3 separate regions of the Homo sapiens genome follow, and all the other regions are linked to region 3. Evidence: promoter capture Hi-C in human tissues and cell types (Jung and others, 2019). All regions are on one chromosome and are shown on one strand. Each heading gives the region's core, a stretch centred on a gene start or on the middle of the fragment in contact. The rest is flanking DNA. Distances are from core to core; before and after follow the strand shown. Region 1 has its middle 7.8 kb from the start of ISL2. Region 2 overlaps LOC101929457 (a long non-coding RNA gene). Region 3 holds the start of SCAPER (S-phase cyclin A associated protein in the ER).

Region 1 (3,991 bases), core at 1,305-3,804, 580 kb before region 3:
TGATCCACCCGTCTCAGCCTCCCAAAGTGCTGGGATTAGAGGCATGAGCCACTGCACCCGGCCGCAGAGAACCAGTTCTTGAACATTTATTAGCACCTACTGGTGGAGTGCATGTACCTGTGCTGACTGGTCTAAACCAATAAGAGAATCCCAAATTCTTTGCCAGTGATGGTTCAGAAATGGCACATCTAAGCCAATTTGGGCTAATGGAACAGAAAAGAGGTTTCCTGGGGGATTCTGAAAAGAAGCCAGCTTCTCCAAGGGAGCATATGGTCCTGGGTATTTTGGCAGCCGTTTCGTGACCACAAGAACCATCCTTAAAATGAGACTGCATCTGTGGACAGTAGAGCAGAAAAACAAAAAGGACCCGTTGATAACACTGGGTCACTGAGTCATTCATCTCTGGGGCTGCCCTACCTCTGTGCTTGTTGTTTGAGCCAACTCATTCCTGGTTAATGCCACTATTTTTTTTCTTTTTTTTTTTTTGGAGTCAGAGTCTCTGTCATCCAGGCTGGAGTGCAGTGGCGCCATCTCAGCTCACTGCAACCTCCATCTCCCAGGTTCAAGCGATTCTCCTGACTCTGCCTCCCAAGTGGTTGGGACCACAGGCATGTACCACCATGCCCTGCTAATTTTTTTTTTTTTTAAGTAAAGGTAGGGTTTTGCATGTTGGCCAGGCTGGTCTCACACTCCTGGCCTTAAGTGATCCACCTGCCTTGGCCTCCCAAAGTTCTGGGATTACAAGTGTGAGTCACTACTCCAGCCTAATGCCACTTTTAGCAGCGCTATCTTTTAGCCAAAAACATTCTGCTGATAATGAGAAGACTGAATGAGGTAAATGCAGTCCCAGCCAGCACCCAGCACATAGCGGTTGCTTAGTAAATGACAGCACCTTCCCTTACCCTCCACTCCAACCCAGGGTCCTCCCTGTGTCCACAGCATGCCTGCATTCCTGCCTTTGCTCCCAGCACTCTCCCTCCTCCTACACAGGCCACATTTGAAGACTTCTCACCTTTTAAGACCCAACTCCAACTCCATATCCTTCAGGAAGCTTGTCTAGTTCATGCGGAATTCTCCTCCCCACCTACTGCCTTCTGTGGTTGCCTGTGCTTTCCTGAATCTGGGTCTTATCTTCCCAACCAGAGTGAAACCCCTTGAGGGCCAGGACCATTCTTCATACAGCAGTTGGCCTCCTCTCCTGGGCCTCGCTCAACCTCTTGACTCTTGTAATGTTTGGTCAGTATTTGGTGGTGGACCGACAGGCCATTAATCTTTTCTCCCTCTTGATTTTTATAAGCTGTGGGCACCGGCATTCAGCTGAATAAGATTCATTCCTCCAACAGCAAGAGGAGCATTATTACTTTGTTCTGAAGGTCTTTACAAGTATAAGGCATGTCTAAAGCTGCTATAAATAATTTATATTGTCCATAACTCAAGCTGATCAAAATAGACCTCATCACAGTGATGCGGCAAAATCTGGTACAAGCTGCTTTTCTCCTGCCTCCAAACCAATTACACATTCGGAGCAGATGAAAATCTGACTGGATTCCCTCCTGAATCGGATTAATGCCCCATCTACAATCACATAAATCACAATCTGTCCATGATTAGACATCGGATAATCCCACTGGACAAGAGGTGACAACCCAGATTCTATTATCTCATTTATTATCTATTTTTGGAATTTACCGGTAACTCTAACCTCCAGGAGATGTTTCCCAGTGAAAGAGGATCTGCTGGAGATTCTTTTGAGAAATGGTTTCTTGATGGACTTTTGTTAGAGTTGTTGCAAGGTGATGAATAGACAAACTAGAACAAGAATGATTGGTCCTTGTTATAAGAAAAAAAACACACATTTAGCTTCTTAAGAGTACATGTTGGAGAGAATAAATGGCATCCTTAAAAGCCTTTAAAAGGACAATAACTTTATGAAGAGATAATCTCATGTTTGAGAACATATGATAAGGCGTTTTTCATTTGTTTTAATATCATAAAGACAAGCATCTCTGACTGATAAAGGGGATGTAACCAGCCCACAAAGTCTGCAAAACCTAAATCCACACACATCTGTGCAGGACAGAGGAGCTTATTACAATATTCAGTTTTCCTGCTGGGAAAATTTGAATCTGGAAGTACTACTAAAGAGACATGCAAGGAGCACATGAGTCATGACAGTTCTGACGCCACGCTCATGGTTACTGACTCGCAGGTGCTGGAGCATTGGAGCACAGCGAAAAACCTGAAGTCACTCCCACTCTGGGATGGTACAATTCACAAAGCAGCATTGTTCCCTGGAATCTTGCTAACTGGATGTCAACCCAGATGTATTTTTCAATATATTTAACAATATCTGTAAGTCACAAGTAAGGGGTATTCTTTTCCACCATCCTCAGGATTACAAATAGAAATTCTTCCTTCACCCCATGTCAATGGTTGAGATTAATTTATCGCCCATTCACACCCTTCCCCCAAACCAGCCTTGCCCCTGTCCCGCCCATTTCTGGGGAAGAGAGGGGAGCCACTCGTCAAGTCAACATGCGCACCATCCTCCTCGGTCCCATCTCCTCCCGGCCCTCCTGACACATGTCCTTGTTGTTGCTTGTCTTGCTTGTCACATCTAAGTGTTCCTCTTTCCCCGGCATAGCTGTGTTCATCCATTTCCCCACTTAAATCTCTTCAGCCAGGCAATGGGAGGTTTCCCCTTTTCCAAGAGAATCACCTCCAAGCTCCTCAGCGTGGCACTTGGGCTTCCCATGCTCACCCAAATATCCCTTTCTGTCTTTCGTGCCTGCTGCTTCCTCCCTGACCGTCCGGCCATGTGGGCCTGCCTGGGGTGGCTATGGGTTCTCCCGGTCTCCATGACTCTGCTTGTGCCACTGCCCATAGTCACCTCTGGCTCCAGCCTCTCCTAGCTGCCCACGTTTTCCCCCAAAAGCACTTGATTCACACACTGCCTCCTTCTGTCTGCCAGACCGTTCCCTCTTCCTAGGAGACCTTCCTGCTCCTTTTGTGTCTGGAAGAATCCAGCTTATCCTCCAAGGCTTGGAAGAGACACCACAGGCTCCTCACCCTGCTCTGTGCACCACCCCCGCTTTGTGTCCTATGGTAGCTCCAGGTCATTCATGGCTCTACTGCAGCCTCTTCACAGTGCCGACCTGCACCTCCCTGCCTCATCTTTCCCATCTCTACTACTGCCTGTCTCAGTGAAGGGCACTCGTCCATCCAGGGCCTCTGCTGCAAACCTGTCCCATTTGGCAAGAGGCTGGCCTCTCTGCAAAAAAGGCGCCCAGTCCTGCTTCAGGGAATCCATTCCCTTTAGAGCTCCGTCGGTCCCTCCTTCCTTCCCTTTCTTTGTCATTTTGCTCAGGACCTGGATCTCGGCAAGAGGAGAAGTACTTCTAGAAGAAAGCAGAACACTAGAAGGTAAGCGCCATGGCTGGGAATATGCCAGTGCCTTTGGCCAAACTGCTCAGAACCACTCCCAGGCCATGCTAGCCAGCCTGGGTTCCCCCTTCTGGAAAGATGAGGAAAATGCAGCTTTCCCCCAAAGCCACTGGGCACAGCTCCTTCCCATGGCCTCATCCCTTCCTAAGATCTGGGCCTGGGAGGGTATCCCTGGGCTACCCTCAGAATGTGATTTGGAAAGAAATGACAGCCTTCATATATATATATATATATTTATATTTATATTTATTTATATTTATATATTTATATTTATATATATTTATATATATATTTATATATATTTATATATTTATATATATATTTATATTTATATATTTTGAGACGGAGTCTCTCTCTGTCACCCAGGCTGTAGTGAAATGATGCTATCTTGGCTCACTGCAACCTCCACCGCCTGGGTTTAAGTGATTCTCCTGCCTGAGCCTCCTGAGTAGCTAGGATTACAGGTGTGCACCACCACGCCTGGCTAATTGTTTATATTTTAGTAGAGATGGGGTTTCACCATGTTGCCCTGGCTGGTCTTGAATTC
Region 2 (3,938 bases), core at 749-3,248, 620 kb after region 3:
GAGGGCTGCCCCAGGCGGGGCCCGGGGCCTCGAGGTCCTGGGGACGTGCTTTCTGTTTACTTTCTGCCGGGCTTCCACAGCGTTGTGGTTTCCACTTGGAAGGGCTGCAGTGGGAACTGAGGGGCCTGCTCCGGGGGCTGAGCTGCATCTGTGGGAAAGCCCTGCAGCCGCTCTGCTGCTGAAAGTTTGGAATTCAGCAGACCCCATCCCTGAATTCCCATGCGGTGGGCTCAGCCCTGGCTCTTCCAGCTACTGGCTCTACCCGGGCCAGTTTAGAGTGAGAGGGTGGCCAGATCCTCCTGGGGGTGAGTCAGAGAGATCTTCCCATTTAGAGAGGATCATCACCTATTTCACAAACAGGGAAACTGAGGGAGGAGAGGGGCAGGAACTTGTCCAAGGCCACTCCTCGTCCATGGCAGAGCTGGGACTGGAACGAGGCCACCTGGTTCCCAGCCCAACTTGAAATCCCCTCATCCCTTTGGGCTTCTCTGGGGTAGGGTGGACACTCCGGGATTCCTGAAGCCCTTAGTTTCCCATGACTTCCCTCTGGGCTGGGGCATGGTGTGTATCCTGGAAGGGGCCTGGCCTTCCCCACTGTGCCCTGGCCACGACCCCGGCCCTGGGCAGAAGGGAAGCTGGGAAGAGGCTGCCCTCTGCTCTTGTTCTCCCTGGGGTCTCCTTGGCCTGTCTGCTGGGGGAGCCCCCCCAGTCCCTGAGAATGTGACCCGCTGCTGAGAGGCCTATAAGTCTCCTCCCCATGCGGGCTCTGCAGTGCCCAGGTCTGGGAACCAGAACTTGGATTTGAATTCCAGTTCCTCTGTCTATTGGCTGAGGGACCTGAATTTCCTAGTCTTTAAAACAGACGTATACCACTCCCCGCCTTACAGAGGATAATGGGAGTGAAGTGCCAGGTGAGCTGTGAGGGGCTCAGCCTACACACTAGACTTGAGGCCATTGGCCACCGGCCTGCTCACAGCAACAGCTAGGAAGGGGCTGAAGTCCCATCTTGCCTAGACAGGCCTGCCACCACTAGGGCTGTGGCAGAGGCCCCCAGAAGGTGGGGAGGAGGGCGGTGACAGTGCCAAGCCCTCCCTGCAGAGTTCTTGCCTTCTCTGGGGAGCGCCGAGGCAGTGTGCTGGGGTGCGGGTGGCCTGGTGGGTGGCCCCACTTTGTAAGGCCCATCTTATTCTGTGCTCTCTGTGAGGGGAGCTGATAATTGAGCCATTTCTCAGGGAGATGACCCTGATTTTTATGAATCTGCAGGACGAAGGAAGCAGCGCTGTCCTGCTGGGGAGACTGTGAGAAGGAGGAGATGAAGGGGAAGTTGCTTATCTTCCCAGTCTTTCCACTTGGGAGACTGTTTGGCGTGTGACGAGGGAGGAGAAGCCAATTTGAAGCCTCTTGGAGGAGGAGGTCTCTGCTGTTGCTGTCCCTGGCACAGCCTTGCCCCTCATCCTCTCTGGCCACCTGCCTCCTTAATCCATTTAACGCCTCTTCATCGCTGTTTTTTTTTTTTTTTAATACTTTTCCTGAGCTGGGGCCCCCAGGGCCTCCTTGATGGCGAATGGTCTCGGCAGCCCCTGGGCTGTTCCTGGGAAGGGACAGGCTTCAAGGTCAGGCTGCTGCTGGCTGACCTTGAAAGCTTCCGCAGGCAAGCCCCTGACATGCCTCCACTCTCCAAGCTCAGCGAGCTCCATCACATTAAAAAGCTGTTAAAAGCGCCCGTCTGGTTGGCTGCCTCTGAGGCTCTGCGGCCGGTGGTGGGGAAGGCAGCCTCAGTTCAGGGATGAGCTCCGCTAGAGGCGCGGGTCTGCCCTGGGGACCTAGGCCTGGGAACCGCCTGGCAGTTGCCCACCCCTCCATTCTTACTTGAGGGAAGGCAGTGGGAGGATGACACTTATCCTGAGCCACACAGTAGCCTAAGTGCTTTTAGATGGGTGAGCTCACTTCATCTTTACAGCCGCCCTGTAAAGTAGGGCTATTAGGAACCCCATGTTGCAGTTGGGCTCAGGAAGGTTAAGACACTTCTCTAGGGTCACACAGCGAGTAAACAGATGAGGAGACCCTCAGCCCCTGAACTCACTGGCTCGGGCCTCACCCGAAGGGTTCTCAGTGTCCACCTACCCACTCTGCACATCGTGCCCGGTGTGGGCCTCACCTGTGGTGGCCTTCTCTGGGCCGTGGCTTGCCCTGCACTCATGGGCACAGAAAGCTTCTCCCCTCTGGAGATGACCGGGGCTTTGGCCTCGGTTGCTGTGTGGCCATGGACAAGCCCTTGGGCCTGCCTTTCCTCAGGTCAGGAGTCTGGGAGGGGTGTGGAGAGTAGCGGGTGGTTATGGCTGGGCTTCAGGGCTCTTTATTCAATTCGAAATAAACCTAGCTGTAGGCTTCCATGGTGGCTTCATAGGCCTCCCCAGGCCTTTTGTTTGCCTGCTAATGGTTTCTAGTGCCCCTGCAGGGCCTGGCAGGTTCAAAGCTCACTCAGACTAGCAGCTAGCAGACTCCTAGGCTGGGGAAGGCTATGGACCTTCCTCCTTCACCCAGCCTGGCCCAGTCTCCCTGGGGACACACCACAAGCATGAGGTGGGGTAGGGGCAGCATGGGGTGGCACAGGGTGAGGGTAGGAGAGGTGGAGGAAGAAGACTCCTCCCAGGGGAGGTGAGAGGGCTGGATGCCCCCACTCCCACTCTGCTTCTGGTTGTGATGAGCCCCATGTGACTCCATCATTTGTGAGACCTTCAGATTTGCCCAGGAAGGCCCATCTGCCCATGGGCAATTTTAATGCCAAGGCATGATCTGTTCCTCTCTCTCCACCTTTCCCCCATCATCGCCTCCCACTCTTCTCCCATTCCTCTGCTCCAGCCACACCAGGCTCCCTGCTGTCCACAAGCACCCCAGGCCCACTGCTACCTCAGGCCCTTCGCACAGGCGGCTCCTCTGCTGACAGACTCCTCCCATTGGGTCCACATGGCTGGCTCATTTCCCCAGCTCCTTCAAGTCTCTGCTTGATGTTCATCCTTTTTTTTTCTTTTTTTTTCTGAGATGGAGTCTCACTCTGTCGCCCAGGCTGGAGTGCAGTGGTGCGATCTCGGCTCACTGCAACCTCTGCCACCCGGGTTCAAGCAATTCTCCTGCCTCAGCCTCCCTAGTAGCTGAGATTACAGGCGCATGCCACCACGCCTGGCTAATGTTTGTATTTTTAGTAGAGATGGGGTTTCACCATGTTGGACAGGCTGGTCTCAAACTCCTGACCGCGTGATCCACCCCCCTTGGCCTCCCAAGGCAAGGAGGGTGGAATGTGCTGGAATTACAGGCATGTGCTGCTGCACCCAGCCTGATGTTCATCTTCTCACCAGACCTGCCCTGAACATTCGACTTTAAACCGCCTCCGCCTGGCCCTCCCCATGTCCTGACCCTGCTCTGTTGCATTCCACAGATGTATTGCCTTCTGGCACTTTGTAATTAACTTACTTATGTTGTTTCTCCTTCTCCTGCATTAGAATATAAACTCTAGGAGGGCAGGCATTGTTGTTTGCTTTGATAACATTGAAACCCTCCCCAGTACTTAGCACAGTGCCCAAACACAGTGTAGGTCCCTGAGAAACACCTGCGGAATGAGTGAGCAGATGAGTGGATGGGTTTCAGTACATCTTAAAGCAAAGTATCTGTAACATTTGTCTCTTTAGGGACCAGAGAATGGGGCGTTGGAAGACCTAGGTTGGAGCCTCACCTCTGCCCTATCTTCGCTGTGTGACCTTGAGCAGGTCACTCTAACTCTTGCCGCCTCAGCTTCCTAACAGCGCCCCTGCCCGGCCTCTCTTGCAGGCCCACAGAATGAAAAGAGAGGAGTTCCAGGAAAGGGTTTGGCAGATGGCATCCCTGCAGGACTGCCTCGCGGCGCTCTGCCCCATCCAGCCCCTACGTACTGGCCATGTGAC
Region 3 (3,977 bases), core at 1,278-3,777:
TTGGGAGGCCGAGGTGGGTGGATCATCTGAGGTCAGGAGTTTGAGACCAGCATGGCCAACATGGTGAAACCCGGTCTCTACTAAAAATACAAAAAAAAATTAGCCAGGCATGGTGGTGAGTGCCTGTAGTTCCAGCTACTCAGGAAGCTGAGGCAGGAAAATCGCTTGAACTTGGGAGGTGGAGTTTGCAGTGAGCCAAGATTGCGCCACTGCACTCCAGCCTGGGTGACAGAGTGAGACTCGGTTTCAAAAAAAAAAAAAAGAAAGTGAAAGAAATGACAGAATCTCAAGTCCCTTCATCTTACTTATCTTTAAAACATTCCTGCAGCTAAATGAAGACATTAATGACCTTAATATCAATCTTTTAGGAGTTCTTAAAATACCTATGAAGCACCAATGGCAAACATTTTTAAAGTCTGTTTAGAATACTATATCCTTTGGACCAGTCACCAAAATTTATTTATAAACACATTTGTACAGTACTGCTGATTACACTTCCATGGTTATTTGACCTGAACAACCAAGTGATTAACCATAATGCTATGGTCTGCATGTTTGTGTTCTTCAAAATTCTTGTGGAAATCCTAGTTTCCAAGGTCATATCAGGAGGTGGGGCCTTTGGGAGATGACTGTATTATGAAAGCAGAACCTTAATGAATGGGATAAATTCCCTTATAAGAGGCCAGAGAGAGACCCCTTCACCCTTGCACCATGTAAGGAGACAGCTAGAGGGTGCCATCTATTAACCAGAAAGCAGGCTATCACCAAACACTGAATCATCAGACATCTTGATCTAGGACTTCCCAGCCTCCAAAACTGCAAGAAATGAATTTCTGTTGTTTATAAGCCACTCAGTCTGAGGTATTTTGCTATACCAGACCCAAATGGACCAAAGACACATAGAGTATATTTTTAATGCAGCTCAAGGGAGTGTGGAGAAAGAAGGAAAAGAGCATTTGTTGAGGGCTTACCATGGGCTAGGAACAGTTCTCAATACTTTACAGACACCTAATTTATTACTATCAACAAAATTATGAGGTGGATATTATTCCTACTTTACAGATAAGAAAGGCTCAGAAAAATTAATTTGCCAAAAACAAGGGTTGGGGCTGAGATTCAAACTCAAAACAGTCTGCCTTCAAAGCCATCAGATTACTTCTCCCACAGACAACCTTCCAAATCACATTAAAACTTGACTCTTTGATTGATTAAAAATATTAATTCTTTAGTGGATATCATTCTTCAAGTGGCATAAATCATCTGCAACCAACAAACTTTGAGGAAAAGTCATAGTTAACAGAAATAACAGAAGGGAAAGAGCACCAGTATAGGCCAGAGTGGGACAGTGGTCAGACTACCAACCTTAGGTCAGAAAACTTAACCCCAGATTTACCACTCACCAGCTGGTGATCTAAGGCAAGTAATAACCTTTTGAGCCCCCGTTTCTCCATTCATAAAATAAGTATTACTCCTAGCCCATCCATCCTTCTACCAGATTATTTATGAAGATGAAAAGTTAATGATGAAATTAATCCATAAACTAAGACAAACTATAATTCATATAAGGAATTAGTATCTGTTCGGTAAAATGACTATTAATGAATAGCTATTTTCATGGAAAATAACTTGTCACAACTAGAATAAGAGATGCAGTCCACCAGCAACAGGAAGCTGCTCACAAACAGGCGGCCTCATCTCAGCTGGGGCCCCCTTAACAGCAGCAGGTGTTGCTTACAGGACCAGTTTTGTGCCTGCTTTCTAACAATCCCGTTCCTCCCTGGTGCCGTTCCCACGAACGCGCCTGGAAAACGGTGTAGAGGAAAGGCGCCAAGGAAGTGCTGTTTTGGAAAAGAGCAGCAACAGAGGCAGGAGGCTGGGTCCCACTACTCCCAGGTGCGAGAGGCTCTTCGCCCCTCCAGGCCTCAGCGCACGCATCTGGAAGACGGAGAGGCCATTCCTGCCCCGTTTCCTGGGCAGAGCTAAGATCAGAGTACAGGGAAAGCATGGTAAACCCCGCTGGGAATGACAGATGACGAAGACGATCACCTGTCAAACGAAGGGAGGCTCCTCCAGGGGCCCCTCGCATTTAGACATTCCAGAAGCCTCGTCACCCGCGGCCGGGGCTGCCCCCAAGTGAGGTGACGCGGCAGCCCCCCACTCACCCCTCAGACCGCGTAGTGTGCGGGGTCTCACGTCCCTCACACCCCAGATGAGCCCGCAGGGCAGGGCCCGGACGCGGCTCACCCCAGCCCCCGTCCCGAGGCCTCCGAGGCCGACCTCCGAGCCCTCCCCAGGCGACCGCGGCTCCCCTCCCCCAGCAACGATCCCTGCCCCGCTCAACTCGCACTCCCAGGTGAGGGGAGGGGGTGAAAGGGCGTACCCCGCCGCCATTTTGTCCCCTGGTCCCCGCAAGGCATTCAGACGGCCCGCGCCCCAACCCGGACCCGCCCGGGTCTGCGCTACGCACGCCCCTCGCGGACACTCACCCCCGACCGCCCTGCTTAGTTCGGGGCGGCTCAAAGCGTCCCGCCGGGAAAGGGGCGTGACGGGGCGGGGCAGGGAGGCCTCGGAGAGGCGGGGTGGCTTCCCGGCGCACCACGTGATCTCAGCCGCTGCCGCGCCGCTCCCGGCTGCAAGATCTGTGTTGTCCGCGCGCAGGCGCACGCCCGTTCGCGCCGTTGGGGCGCCCAGGCGGGAGGTGTGAGGGTTGATTTGGTTCGATGTCCCGGCGCGGCGTTTCCGAAGCTGTTTCTTTTCCTAGGTTAAGCTTACACCGCCGCTTTTGGCCACACAGGTCTTTCTCGTACTCAATCTCTTCCCTCCTCCTGCCTTATCACCACAGTCAATCCACAGATTAAGGACTTAGAGACGCGCCTCACAGAAATCTGTGCTGGCGAAAGCACTTGACAGGAGCACGCTGGGCTGCGCTGAACACAACTAGGCCTCCGAGAAGCTTTATCAGGGCCCTTCTGTGTGCCAGGCTTGGAAGGTCGAAGTACAGAGACCTAACAAATACGTTTCATCTACTTCAAAGACAAACATATGATGAATTAAATACTTTAACGTTTAAATCAGTCTGAACAAAATAGAAAAAAGATTCAATGCAGACTGTAATTATCAAACGAATATTCACCGTCCCTTTTCATCCAGCTGGGAAACAGCTCTTTACCCTTCCCTCTCCCTCCCCACCCGCAGTAGGCGGGAAGTCCTGGACTCACAAGCGTTGTGGGGGCAGGAACCATATGGCTATGTTCTGGCTCCCCTTCTCTCTTGCCTTCTTAGAAAACTCGCTTTTTCATTTATTCAGCAAATGTTTATTGACCACATACTATATATCAGATGGTATTCTAGATGCTTGGAGTTAATACGTGAGCAAAATAAACAGAAATCTCTAAAAAACCTCCGGCTTCTTGGAGCAGGGTGAAACCAGGCAAGTGTTACATCAAGTTTAGCCAAAAGCTGTGTCCTTACATATTTTAAGTTCAGCCTGAAGGTTTCTCCGTAAATAGTAAACTATAACCTAAATGGAGGTGTAAATACACTGCAACCTACTCTTGCGCCAATCACCAAGTTTTGGCCAAAGACGGCCAACTGTTCAAACCGTGTTCAAATAAGGTAAACGTCTAGCTATAACCATTCTGGCTGTTTCCCTACCTCACTTTTCTTTCTCTGTCTATAAACCTTTTTCCACCATGTGGCTCTGCGGGAGTCTGTATGAACCTACTCTGGCTCAGGAGGCTGCCTGATTCGGGAATAATTCTTTGCTCAAACTCTGTTTAATTTGGCTAATATTTTGCTTTTAACACAAGAAATAGTAAACACAATAAATAAGTAAATTATATAACATGATAAGCACTACAGTTAACAAAATGAGTAGGATAAGGGGGATAGAGTAGGGAGCATACTACAATTCTATAAAAGGCGGTCAGGGCCTCATTTCTTAATTATCCCCACTTCCTTTCATACTCATAAGCATG

What was found. Contacts are between HindIII fragments. The study calls those that stand out against the background at their distance.
Region 1: a contact is called between a fragment that was not itself captured here and the fragment with the promoter of SCAPER in region 3, in 1 of the 25 tissues and cell types used here (IMR-90 fibroblasts).
Region 2: a fragment that was not itself captured here is called in contact with the fragment with the promoter of SCAPER in region 3 in 1 of the 25 tissues and cell types used here (lymphoblastoid cells).

What each region holds. Positions count from the first base shown.
Region 1 is chr15:76,326,981-76,330,971 of GRCh38, forward strand. No RefSeq gene overlaps it. Among named protein-coding and RNA genes, the nearest start is that of ISL2, 7.8 kb to the right of the region's middle. The HindIII fragment of the contact is 5,643 bases long and covers 1-3,991 here.
Region 2 is chr15:77,527,417-77,531,354 of GRCh38, forward strand. LOC101929457 (a long non-coding RNA gene) reads left to right here. Exons shown (of 2, transcript NR_135692.1): 2 at 3,687-3,938. Among named protein-coding and RNA genes, the nearest start is that of LINGO1, 100 kb to the right of the region's middle. RefSeq lists enhancers at 1-414, 1,257-2,100, 2,101-2,942, 2,943-3,786. The HindIII fragment of the contact is 4,673 bases long and covers 1-3,938 here.
Region 3 is chr15:76,902,813-76,906,789 of GRCh38, forward strand. It overlaps SCAPER (S-phase cyclin A associated protein in the ER), which reads right to left and starts at 2,528. Exons shown (of 32, transcript NM_020843.4): 1 at 2,487-2,528. RefSeq lists silencers at 2,104-2,183, 2,204-2,313, 2,324-2,633 and an enhancer at 2,374-2,874. The HindIII fragment of the contact is 13,869 bases long and covers 1-3,977 here.